Regions from separate parts of the Homo sapiens genome. Here region 1 is linked to region 2. The links are contacts of gene promoters, found by promoter capture Hi-C in blood cells and fetal thymus (Javierre and others, 2016). All regions are on one chromosome and are shown on one strand. The core of a region is centred on a gene start or on the middle of the fragment in contact, and the rest is flanking DNA. Distances in the headings are between cores, read along the strand shown. Region 1 holds the start of SLC35C1 (solute carrier family 35 member C1). Region 2 overlaps PHF21A (PHD finger protein 21A).

Region 1 (5,626 bases), core at 3,127-5,626, 200 kb before region 2:
GGATGAATGAGAAGCCTTATAAACTTCAGGGATTAGGGTCAATACGGTTCTTAAATTGGCCCTGATTTCCAGGCATTCCTACCCATGGTCTGACTTCCATTCATTCCACAACGAGGCACTAGGCACCTACTGTGGCAGGCATTGTGCTAGGTCCTGGATAAGGACAGGATGGACAGACGGATGGATGGATGGTTGGATGGATGAACAGTTGGATGGATGGATGGATGGATGGATGGATGGATGGATGGATGGATGGGAAACTGTGAGAGATAAAGCAAAAGAGAGAGAGAGGAACAGAGAAATTAGACTAAGCAATTTCATGCCTTCTCAATTTTGCCTAGAAAATATGTGTGTGAGGAGGAAATGCCATTCCAGTAGGCATGTGGGTAAAGGCCTTGTTGCTGTAGCAAAGAGACCCCTTTAGAACTGTGTAGGTATGCAGGAACATAAGTTGATTTCCCACAGTCCACAGTGGCAGGTATCTCTGCTCCACAGAATCAGGGACCTCGGCTTTTTCCATCACATTCCTCCACAGCCTCTAAGACGTTGTCCTTGTCCTCATGGTCAAGACTGGCTTATAGATGCATTTGGTTTCCAGGTTATGGGAAGAGGAAGAAAAAGCATGGAGGAACACACTCCTAAAGTTTTAAAGACCTAGAAAGTAGCATATCTCACGTGTTGCTATAGACTGGAGGTATCCCTCCAAAATTTATATACTCCAATGGACCCCTAAGCCCCAATATGATGGTATTTGGGGATGGGTCTTTGGAAGGTAATTAGGTCATGAGAGTGGAGCCCTCATGGTGGGATTAGTGCTCTTATAAGAAAAGACATGAGATCCTCCCCCCACTCCACCCCCATCTATGTGCCAGGTGAAGACAGAAGGAGAAAGCAGCCTTCTACAAGCTGGAAGCAGCCCCTTGCCAGACACCAGATCCACCTGGGCCTTGATCTTGGACCTCCCAGCCTCCAGACTGTGAGAAATAAATGCTTACTGTTTAAGCTGCTCAATCTATGGTATTTTTGTTATAGCAGGCTGAACTCACCAAGACACTTCCCTTCACCATCCACTAAGTCACATGGTTCATCTACTTAGAAGGAAGGCTGGGAAATGTAGTCTTTGGCTGGGCAACCATAAGACTAGCTACAATCCAATTATTTTGGATGAATGGGGGAGTGAATTTTGGTAGACAACTAGGAGTGTCTATCACATAGGGTAGGCTCATGAGTCCTTGTTGAACTCAGAGTGAGACAGTCAACATCTGTGTGTTCCCAGAAGTTCTCAAGCCGCACAGGTACAGATCCACTGACCCCTGAACCTGGGAAGTTAGTTCTGTTCACTGTGACTGGCAGAAATAATTTCCTGCTGACATTATTAGTGGCTCCCAGCCAAGGCAAGAAAATGAGACTACACCCATAAAGGAACTATTACAGCCCTTCAGCTGCCACGTTGATGATCTTATGCTCTACCTCACACCAAATTCACACCCTGGATAATCACTGTTGGCAAGACCTAAAATTTCACCCTTTGTGGATGGTTTAAACAATTAACATTCCTTAAAGAAAATTCAAAAGCAAACCATTTATGCAAGGTACACAATTCCCAGGGGCCTTAGACCCCCTAAGAAACATCCCCACCCCTCCTTTCCCTCATAAGGGATAAAATGATTAGAATCCAGGAAACTTGCTGTACTGGCCTGTTAACAACCTTAATCCAAGGGAGTGACACTAATGACAGAATTTCAGGTATGATGTGAGAGATTGGAGACAGGGGTATACTTTGGCCTCCATAGAGAGCCCACACTGTCCCCCACACACGCAGCACTGACTGCCCCTGGGCCTCTCTCAGCGAAGTGCATCTGGCCTATATACAAGATATATCTCTTCCCTCCAGTTCAAGGTGGCAGCAGTCATCAGACAAGTTCCTGCTAATGTGCTAAGGAGAAGGCCCTTCCAGATCACCAGGGCCTCTCAGGGACAAGTTTGCCCTGTCTGTCACTAAATTGTTTGTCATGGTGAACTCTCGGGCATAAGAGAGGAGAGACTGGAACAGATACGAATTGCTCTTAATGAACCAAAACCCACAGCTTCAAAGGAAAATCCCAGAGGTAGACTCTCCAGGTGGGGTTGAGGAGACCAGCTCAGTCCCTCTTGAGTCTTTCTTTCCCCAAAGGGATATTTTAGTTCCAAAAGTGACAAGGTAACCAGATGGTATCCTCCAGGTGGAGAACAGCCCACAACTAGGAAGCAGAGTCTCATTCCTTGAGGAGGAAGAGGGGAGTGCTAGTACCCGGGGCTAGTGGAAGAGGGTAGGGTGTGGGCCCGGCTCGTTGTGGGGCAGCTGTTTACTTCACTGCAGCCTGCAGCCCTCCCATTTCCCTACAGCCCACCCAGGGCTGCGCTCAGCTCCAGTGAAGGTTTGTGCAGTTAGGATCTGAGAGTTTAAGCGTACTATATAGGTTTTACCTTTTTATTCTGGAAATTTGCAAATGTACACAAAAGTAAGGAAACTCTTATAATGGGTCCTTGTGTATCTACGCCTAGCTACAACTATCAATGGCTTATCTTATTTAATCTATCAACCTTTTAAAAAAAATCTTTTTGAGGTCAGGCACGGTGGCTCACGCTTGTAATCCCAGCACTTTGGGAGGCCGAGGCCGGCGGATCACCTGAGGTCAGGAGTTAGAGAACAGCCTGGCCAACACGGCGAAACCCGGTCTCTACTAAAAATACAAAAAATAACCGGGCGTGGTGGTGGACGCCTGTAATTCCAGCTATTCGGGAGGCTGAGGCAGGAGAATCGCTTGAACCCGGGAGACGGAGGTTGCAGTGAGCTGAAATAGCACCACTGCACTCCAGCCTGGGCGACGGAGCGAGACTCCGTCCCAAAAAGAATAAATAAATAAAAATAAAAAATATTTTTGGTAAGTATTCTTAGTATTTTAAAACAAATCCCAGCCATGACATCATCTTACCCGTTAATTAAATGGCACTAATTAAATGGTGCTTGAAATATTACAAACATCTATGTTCGACCATACCACCTAGAGTTCTGGGCAAGAAGGTTGGGACCCACAGGTCAAGCCTAGCCCCTTAGTTTTACCATGAAGATAACTCAGGCCGTCGGAGAAAGTGGCCTGCCCAACGCAGGTGCTAGAGCGCGAACCAAGAGAAGTCGATCCTCCTGGTCTCCCCGGCTGCCTGGTGAGTGGCAGACCACAGGCTAGACTTCCCAGGCCCCGGCCCTGGAAGGGGCGGGGAACCCTCCCCCTCACTGCCAGCTGGAAGAATCCGAGCGGTCCCCGCACGCACTTCTGGAAGTGCAAGCCGGTAGCGCGGCGGGCCAGGGATACAGCCAAGTCCCGGGACGTGCCAGCTGCGGTAACTGAAGCCGGGTCCCGGGCGGGCGGGGGTACCAGGGACAGGAGTAGCCTTGGAAAGAGGAGAGGGCCTCCTCCCACGACCGTCCGGATCACCGCCTCTCCGCCGGCACCCCCGGGGCCCATGCCGCGAACAGGCCGGCGAGGCTGGCAAGGTGCCCGGGCCCGGGGCGGAAAGCAGGAAGTCGATCCCGCGGGCGCGGCCCAGGGTGCGGCGCTGCAGATGCAGCACGGGGTCGCGGGGCGGGCGCCCAGTGCACCGGAGGAGGTGAGCGCCAGGTCGCCTTCGCGGCCCGGGGACACAGGCAGGGACGCGGGAGCTGATGCGGCTGGACCGGCCGGGGAAACAGTATTTTCTGGAAGGGGTAAGAGATGCTGTCTTGAGCCTTTGGAATCTCGGATCCGGGCCGCCCAGAGGACCTCGACAGGAGCACAGGGAGGACAAACTGAAGTCCGAGAGAGGCGGCGTGGCCTCCGGCCTCGGGGAGCGCTGCCGGGGGTCTCGGGCTTGGGAGAGGGCCTGGGGGCGGTGAAAATGGGGGGAAAGGAGGGGACCACAACATTGTTATGGAAGAGTGAGCTCGGATTGGCAGAGGGACGCGGGGCTGCAACGCGAGTCTCCGGAGGTGGAGGGGTCCAGGCTGATGTAGCGCCGCCCGGGTCCTGGGTCGGGGTTCCGGGAAGTGGACCTGCGAGCCAAGCCTAGCCAAGTCGGGGGACGGAGGCTCCGGGGCGGACGGAGCTGAGGGTGGGCAGGCGAGGTTGATGGAGCCCTTCCAGGAAGCAGGGCGAGGCTCAAGCACCCAGAAAAACCTGTGGCTGCCGAGGTCCCCCGCCAGCAGCGGGCAGCGGAGCGCAGGGGCGGGGCTGGGGACTGGCGAACTCCGCCTCTCTGGGGCTGTCGCTTTAAGGGCAAGGCGGGGCGTGCGGGCCCTTTAAGGCCACGTGGGGGCGTGTCAGGAAGTGAGTCCAGGGCCCGCCTCCCGGGGAGTCGGCCTCGGATGTCCGGAGGCTCCTGGGCTGAGCCGGCGACAGAGCCCGGGAAGGCAGCGAGACGTGGGCGCCGGCCCAGCCCCCTCCCGCGTCCTTCAGCCCCAAGCCCCGAGCCCCTCTGACCCTTCCGCAGCCCTCCCTCCAGCCGCGCCCGGCCTCCGGCAGCTCCCTGTACGCCTCCCTCCCCCTGCCCGCCCCTCCCTCCCACAGCCGCCCATGACGCCCTCTCGGCACCTCTTCCCACTCTGCCACGCGTCCTTTTCCTGCACCTTCGCCCCGCGTACCTACTCCTGCCCCGCCCTGCCATTCCTCTCCCCTCCCTTCTCTCTGCGACCCCTCCCTGTTAGGCCCCAGCCTCTTCTCCCCTCACAGGTCTTCTCTGTCCTGGCCTCACCGCCTTATCCTATTCCTCTCCCTTGCCCTGTGTCTTGTCTCAGAGCCCCCTCGGGGTGGGAGTAGGTTGTGGAGCAGCACAACTGGGCTCACCCCAAAGCAGAACTTCTCAATCCATGAGGACAATGGGGAGGCCTTTAGGCCAGCCCACATGTGACAATGGAGGGCTGCGGCTTCCTTGCGGAGAGCACAAGTGAGCTCACTGCCCTGGACTCCAGGGAATCAGAGTTCTGGCCGCGGGGTGACCCAGCTCCTCTGCTACCATGAATAGGGCCCCTCTGAAGCGGTCCAGGATCCTGCACATGGCGCTGACCGGGGCCTCAGACCCCTCTGCAGAGGCAGAGGCCAACGGGGAGAAGCCCTTTCTGCTGCGGGCATTGCAGATCGCGCTGGTGGTCTCCCTCTACTGGGTCACCTCCATCTCCATGGTGTTCCTTAATAAGTACCTGCTGGACAGCCCCTCCCTGCGGCTGGACACCCCCATCTTCGTCACCTTCTACCAGTGCCTGGTGACCACGCTGCTGTGCAAAGGCCTCAGCGCTCTGGCCGCCTGCTGCCCTGGTGCCGTGGACTTCCCCAGCTTGCGCCTGGACCTCAGGGTGGCCCGCAGCGTCCTGCCCCTGTCGGTGGTCTTCATCGGCATGATCACCTTCAATAACCTCTGCCTCAAGTACGTCGGTGTGGCCTTCTACAATGTGGGCCGCTCACTCACCACCGTCTTCAACGTGCTGCTCTCCTACCTGCTGCTCAAGCAGACCACCTCCTTCTATGCCCTGCTCACCTGCGGTATCATCATCGGTGAGTGGCAGCTGGGGCCACGGGGGATAGAGTGGTCATGGGGACTGAAGCAGTGAAGAACA
Region 2 (5,948 bases), core at 1,286-3,785:
CATTTGTTACTATATTTGGCCTTCATAACTAGAATGCATAGTCCTCAAAATATTTGTGGAATGGCTAATGCTTCAGAAATAAACTAATTTGTAACTTTACTACAATTTGTAAAATTTATTAACTTTCCAATAATAACCTACCATATCTCTTTCCATTTATAAATGATGATTTATTTGAGAACCACCCTCAGCAAATACTTCTGGGCTTTTGAAAGCACTATTTGGGGGAAAAAAAAAGGAATTCACACATGGCCTTTTTCATTTAAGGGCAGAAAGTGCTGTATATTCAAACTTCATAAGGGAACTTATTTACGTCACAGATATTACCATTAGATAAAGGGGATGTCATATACACCTTTAAGGGATATAATGAAGAACTTTGGACTCTGTCCCCGTAAAATGTCCTATGTGTGCAAACATATAAAACAATTTTGCACACATTTCAGGGAATTTAGAGGCACCCCCTCAAACCCCTCCACAGAACTAGTTTTATCTTTATTCAAAAGACCCTTCTTCCCCAAGGCCGAAATTTGTAATGAAAAAAAAAGTCTCTAGAACAAAGCAAAACAAAAAAACACCCAATGTATTTAACATTAAGTAGATCATTGATACCTTTTTACTTAAAACACAGCTCAAATTAAATGAATTCAAATAAAATGAATTAATTGGATAAATATCTGCTACAGAAATTTTTCTAAAGATTGAATACTATGATTTCTAACTGTTTTGGATTTGCAAAATCAGGTAAGTTTCTGTGACTTTCTCTTCTCCCCCAAATAGCACAAACCCATTTAAAATTATCTTGAGACATTCTGAGACTATAAAAACAGGAGTAGAATAATTTCCTCAATAGAATCTTTTTAAAGCTCAGATTATTTCTTGCTTTGAAAAGAAAATCTGTATATGAGAGTGCCACTAAAAAAAGTCCTAAAAACTTTGTGCATATAGTGTATGGAGGAAAGAGCTTGGGTTAAAGGCTAACATTCAAAAAAAAAAAAAAATGCCAAGTTTTCTTTTCACACCATCTATGTGTCTAGTCATCACTCAGACTCTCTTCGGTGTTAATACTGTTACAAAATGAGGATAATACCTATCCTCTCCCCCACTGCTAAAAGAAAAAAATATTTTATAAAACTAAAGAGTCATAAAATATTCAATATTCATAGTACTAATGACACTAAAACAAGAAATTGATAGCTTAAAAATGCTGATGAACTTGATTTTTAAAACACCATAAAGCTGCCCTGCTGCCCATAATGATGATGACATTTTCACGAAGGGCAGAGTGAGAAAACGCTACAATTCTCACTAGGATGATGACTAGTACTTATAGAAGATTAAAAATAAGAATGATATATTATGTAGAAGAGAAGTAAAGATGGAAGTATGAGTATGGCTCAGCACACTACAGAGCACATGAATTTTAATTTGAAAAGTACTGGCAAGGCCTTGCATGCAGGCCCACACAAGTGCTTTTAAAAGCTTCATTACACTCTGCAGACATTTGCCCTTCATCAATTGCTTCCTATGCCAGGATTTCCTTTTTGAGTGTTGCAACCTAATATTCTTCACCCAGGCAACCACAGCCTATTTTGGAAAGGTTCCCTATTTCAGAAGCTTCAGTGCTGTTTCCATTTGGAAATACATCTTTATGAAAATATGTATCATCCTCAGAACAAAAATGCTTCAATATATTAAGTTTCAGCTGTAAGTGATATTTTTAGAAAAGTGGTAATTTCAGAATCTCTGCTTCAAAATTACAGAGTTGGTTTTTTTAAACGGAGTCACAAAGTAGAAAATTAAAAAGATATACCAATGAATAAAATCCTGTCTCCCCTTTTTCTTATCCCATTTCATTTAAAAATGTTTAAATTTATTTTCCATAGATTCTTAAAATCATTGAATTATGCATACTGGTAAGAAATTTCATCCAATGTTCATCTTCATAAAAACCAAATAACTCAATGCAAAAGAGCTCTTAACAGTCAATTTTCTAAGAAATGGTCTGACATCACAGATGGTGTTTTCTATATAACAAAGTGAATCAATTTGAGATGTCTTGGACACTGTAAAAAACTTGTACTTTTGACCAAAGGAAATGGATTTCACTTTTAATAGATAAGAAATAAGAGACACTGGGGAGTAGGGAAGGGGTAGAGGAGAGAAGGAAGTCCTTGTTCTAAGATTATATTAAAAGCTACTTAAAACATGTAAGTGACAATATTTCATAAACTGAAATATTTTATCAGTAGCTATGACAGAATATTCTCTATTCTTTTCTTCAACATAAAAGTTTTAAAGAACTGTGCTCATTTGACCTCTTATCAAACAAAAACTCACTTTTCTTCATATTGGTTTGCATAGCACAGACTATTACTTTTTCATAGCACTTAACTTTTACTGTGGATGAGGGCTGTATCTGCCAGGCCTAGAATGCTTTCCATTGAACTGTCTCCTCAAGACTAAAGGACTCATCATCTAAAAGATGTCTTTGTAAAATACAGTTTATGCCTCCTGAAAATACCATCTCTCCCTCTCTCCCATTCACTACACACATACTTACATGTGTTCGAAATTTATTCCCCTTCTTTATCATGGCTACCCTCAAGAAAAAACACAGGGAAACAGATAAGCACTACACAACAAAGTTTACTTTTTCCCTTTACAATAATATTTGTCTCTTACTGCAAATGTCTCTGAATATGGAAAATGAGATTATGCAGTTAAATTTTAACACATGCATGTATACACCCAACTAATACAGCAGTCCCCCACATCAGTAATTTCACTTTCTGCAGGCTCAGTTACCAAGAGCAACCGCAGTCCAAAAATTCAGGTTGAGCATCTTTAATCTGAAAAATCTGAAATCCAAAATGCTCCAAAATCCAAAACTTTTTGAGCACTGACGTGATGCCACAACTGGAAAACTTCACACCTGACCTCAAGTGATAGATCATAGTCAACATGCAGTCAAAACTTTGTTTCATGTACAAAATGATGTAAAATATTGTATAAAATTTATACAAATTTATGCTTGGGACCAGAAGTGTTTCAGATTTTGAGATTTTTCAGACTGTAGAATATTTGCACAATATATTAACGCCTTGTATATACCAAATAATCTTAGGCAGTTGCTTTTTCTGGTTGAAGGTTTCAAGATAATAAGAAAAGCAAAAACCTCATTTGCAATATTAACTTAATTAATGGGCACCAAATGTTCAGACCTTCCTGTTCTGACTTATAAAACAGGTTATTTTGACTCCATTAGCAAATGCCCCTGATTATTCTCAGCTTTTTATTACATACTAGGTAAATGAAACTATCAACGATCCTTTTACTAAGAAATGTGAACTGCCTTATACTGGAATAGTTAAATAAACATTAGGGGAACCATCAGCACCAACTACTTACTCCCTATGAGCAATGAATAAAAGAATAATATTTGTAGCACAATTAAGCTTCCATAGCTCAAGACGGATCATCCCACCAATTCTGAAACAATTTACTCTAGCTGTATGAATCTGATCATAAAGAAAAAAGAAACACTTCTAATGAAATGTGGAAATGCTTTTTTTGCATGTGAATCGTATTCATTTCTTTAAAAAACTTCAACTTCAGAACTCTCAAGAACAGTAAGAAAAATAAAACATACAATTTTAAAAGTTTATTTGGAGCCTACAAATGCCTGTGGAAAAGCACAATTTTAAACTTTGAAAATGGGCTGGTCTAATATAAAACAGTCTTTGTAGATAAAAAATAATTCAAATTCAGACAAGAGAGAATTAAAGAATTAGGATGTTCACTGTTATTTTACATTTACGATTAAAGAACCAGATTAACTGACAAGTAGATCACTGTTGACATAGTTCCTATAAATAAGAGCCAAATGATTTTAAAATTAAATGTTATAAACTTCATGCTTTAAAAAATGTGTACTCCCAATTTTCATTTGTTTTCCAATGCTTCCAGAAGCCCAAACAAGAATTATTTTAATAGGGCAAAAAACCATGAGAAATCAGTAAATTCTTAATCTTTCGGTTGTATATACAATTAGGGCAAAGGCTAAGTCAAATCCAGAATTAATAAGCACCTAACGAAATATTGCAACTTGTTATAGTTCTTTAGTTTGAATAAATCTGCCCTCAGTGTTCTATCTTCCTAAACTTTCTGAATAACCTCCACAAATCACGCTATATAAATAACAAGGAGTCTAAAAGTTTACTGCCACATTCACTCTCTAAAGATACTAAAATCAGTTCATCTACACAGGCAGCTGTCTGCCTGAGCTAGAGGATGAAGTTATGCCTTAATGAACTAACGCCATCTAGTGGGATCAGTGAGATTTCAGCTGAAACTAGTTTACAACAGGTTACTACAATCTATTCAGCTGGTCAAATGTCTTATTTAAAAAGATACACTTGTATTAAGTATTGAACTGTCTTAAACGCCTATTAGAATGTGATATACTTGCCTACAATAAAAATGGCACAAAAATATTTTAAGACCAACAACCCTCCCTTGGAATAATATTTCTATTCTTTCCTTCAAAGGCACAAAATACAAATCAACAGGTACTAACAATATGTATTTTCAAAGATCTCAGAAAATGCAAAGTCAAAGTCAGAACAACAGTCAGTAAAATTTAAAGATAACAATAACAAGAGCTATTATTTACTTATTAAGTGCCTAGCATATGCCACACACTTCACAGTTTTAATCTTTAGAGCGTTCCTGCAAGCTCGTTTTACAGGTGATTTCCCATTACAAAAACACTTAAATATAGAGTGACTAACTTAAAAAGTGATCTTTCTTCCCTCCAACCAACCATAACGTGACGAGACATCTATCAACACTAGCTCACTGCATACCTACCATGTGTTCAAAAACATGCAAAGTGATAGTGAGGTTCTAAGAGATGAGAAAAGGGCCCCCTGTCTTTTCAAGGAATCCAGGTAGCGCTGAAGCCAGGAATCTGTGGCACTTTACAGAAGATACTTCCATCTACCTTTTTTCTTCTTCTTCTTTTTTTTTTTTTCGAGATGGAGTTTCACTCTTGTCCAGGCTGGGGTGCAATGGCGTGATCTTGGCTCGCTGCAACCTCCACCTCCCAAGTTCAAGTGATTCTCCTGTCTCAGCCTCCTGAGTAGCTGGGTTTACAGGTGCCCACGACCATGTCCAGCTTATTTTTGTATTTTTAGTAGAGATGGGGTTTCACCCTGTTGCCCAGGCTGGTCTCGAACTCCTGACCTCAGGTGATTCGCCTGCTGTGGCCTCCCAAAGTGCTGGGTATTACAGGTGTGAGCCACCGTGCCCGGCCCCATCTATCTTTTATGATAGTTTTACTGTTAATTTTATTCACATTAAAAATAAACTGCTAGCATGAATATTAAATCCGTCATTTTAAAATTTAGTTACATTAATTTAAATCAAAAAACGATGTGAAAGAAGTGAGATGTGTACCCTTTACATAACCTAACAATGGACATATTCTTTCTTTAATTTCCATTAATATGACTTATTTTTATCATTTTCAAATTTTAGAACAAGGGACTTTTCCATCTTACTCCTAAGTGGAATGTCAGAGTCTTTAAAAAGGTACAGGATCTATCACAATAATCCGTGTTGTTATGTTATTTTCATTTTTAATCGCATATCTGCTTCTTCTTTTTCTGTCTGTACTTGGGATTACCATGCTCCAGATAAGAACAGAAGGGTACTAAAGTAAAATGTGTTTAATGTTGTTCTACCCACCAACTGGTAGGTGAAAATTAACACGAAGTGAAGTTCAGAAAGTAACCTGCAAACTATCCCATTTTCTATTTGGGAATGTTAACTTTAACATTTCAGCACCTTCCCCTACAATGTGTATTTGTTTACTCACATACGCCCATACACTCTATCATGTGAAATCCTAGACTAATCCATAATGTTCAGATGATAACTCAATA

The links. The method cuts DNA at HindIII sites, captures the fragments that hold promoters and counts their contacts. A CHiCAGO score of 5 or more calls a contact.
Region 1: the fragment with the promoter of SLC35C1 here is called in contact with a fragment that was not itself captured in region 2 in 1 of 17 cell types (total B cells); the score reaches 5.2 in total B cells.

The regions. Positions count from the first base shown.
Region 1 is chr11:45,800,773-45,806,398 of GRCh38, forward strand. It overlaps SLC35C1 (solute carrier family 35 member C1), which reads left to right and starts at 4,377. Exons shown (of 2, transcript NM_018389.5): 1 at 4,377-5,564. The coding sequence starts at 5,030. RefSeq lists an enhancer at 3,172-3,331 and silencers at 3,502-3,671, 4,402-4,631. The HindIII fragment of the contact is 25,730 bases long and covers 1-5,626 here.
Region 2 is chr11:46,002,298-46,008,245 of GRCh38, forward strand. All of the region lies in intron 6 of PHF21A (PHD finger protein 21A), which reads right to left. Among named protein-coding and RNA genes, the nearest start is that of LARGE2, 83 kb to the left of the region's middle. The HindIII fragment of the contact is 1,841 bases long and covers 1,616-3,456 here.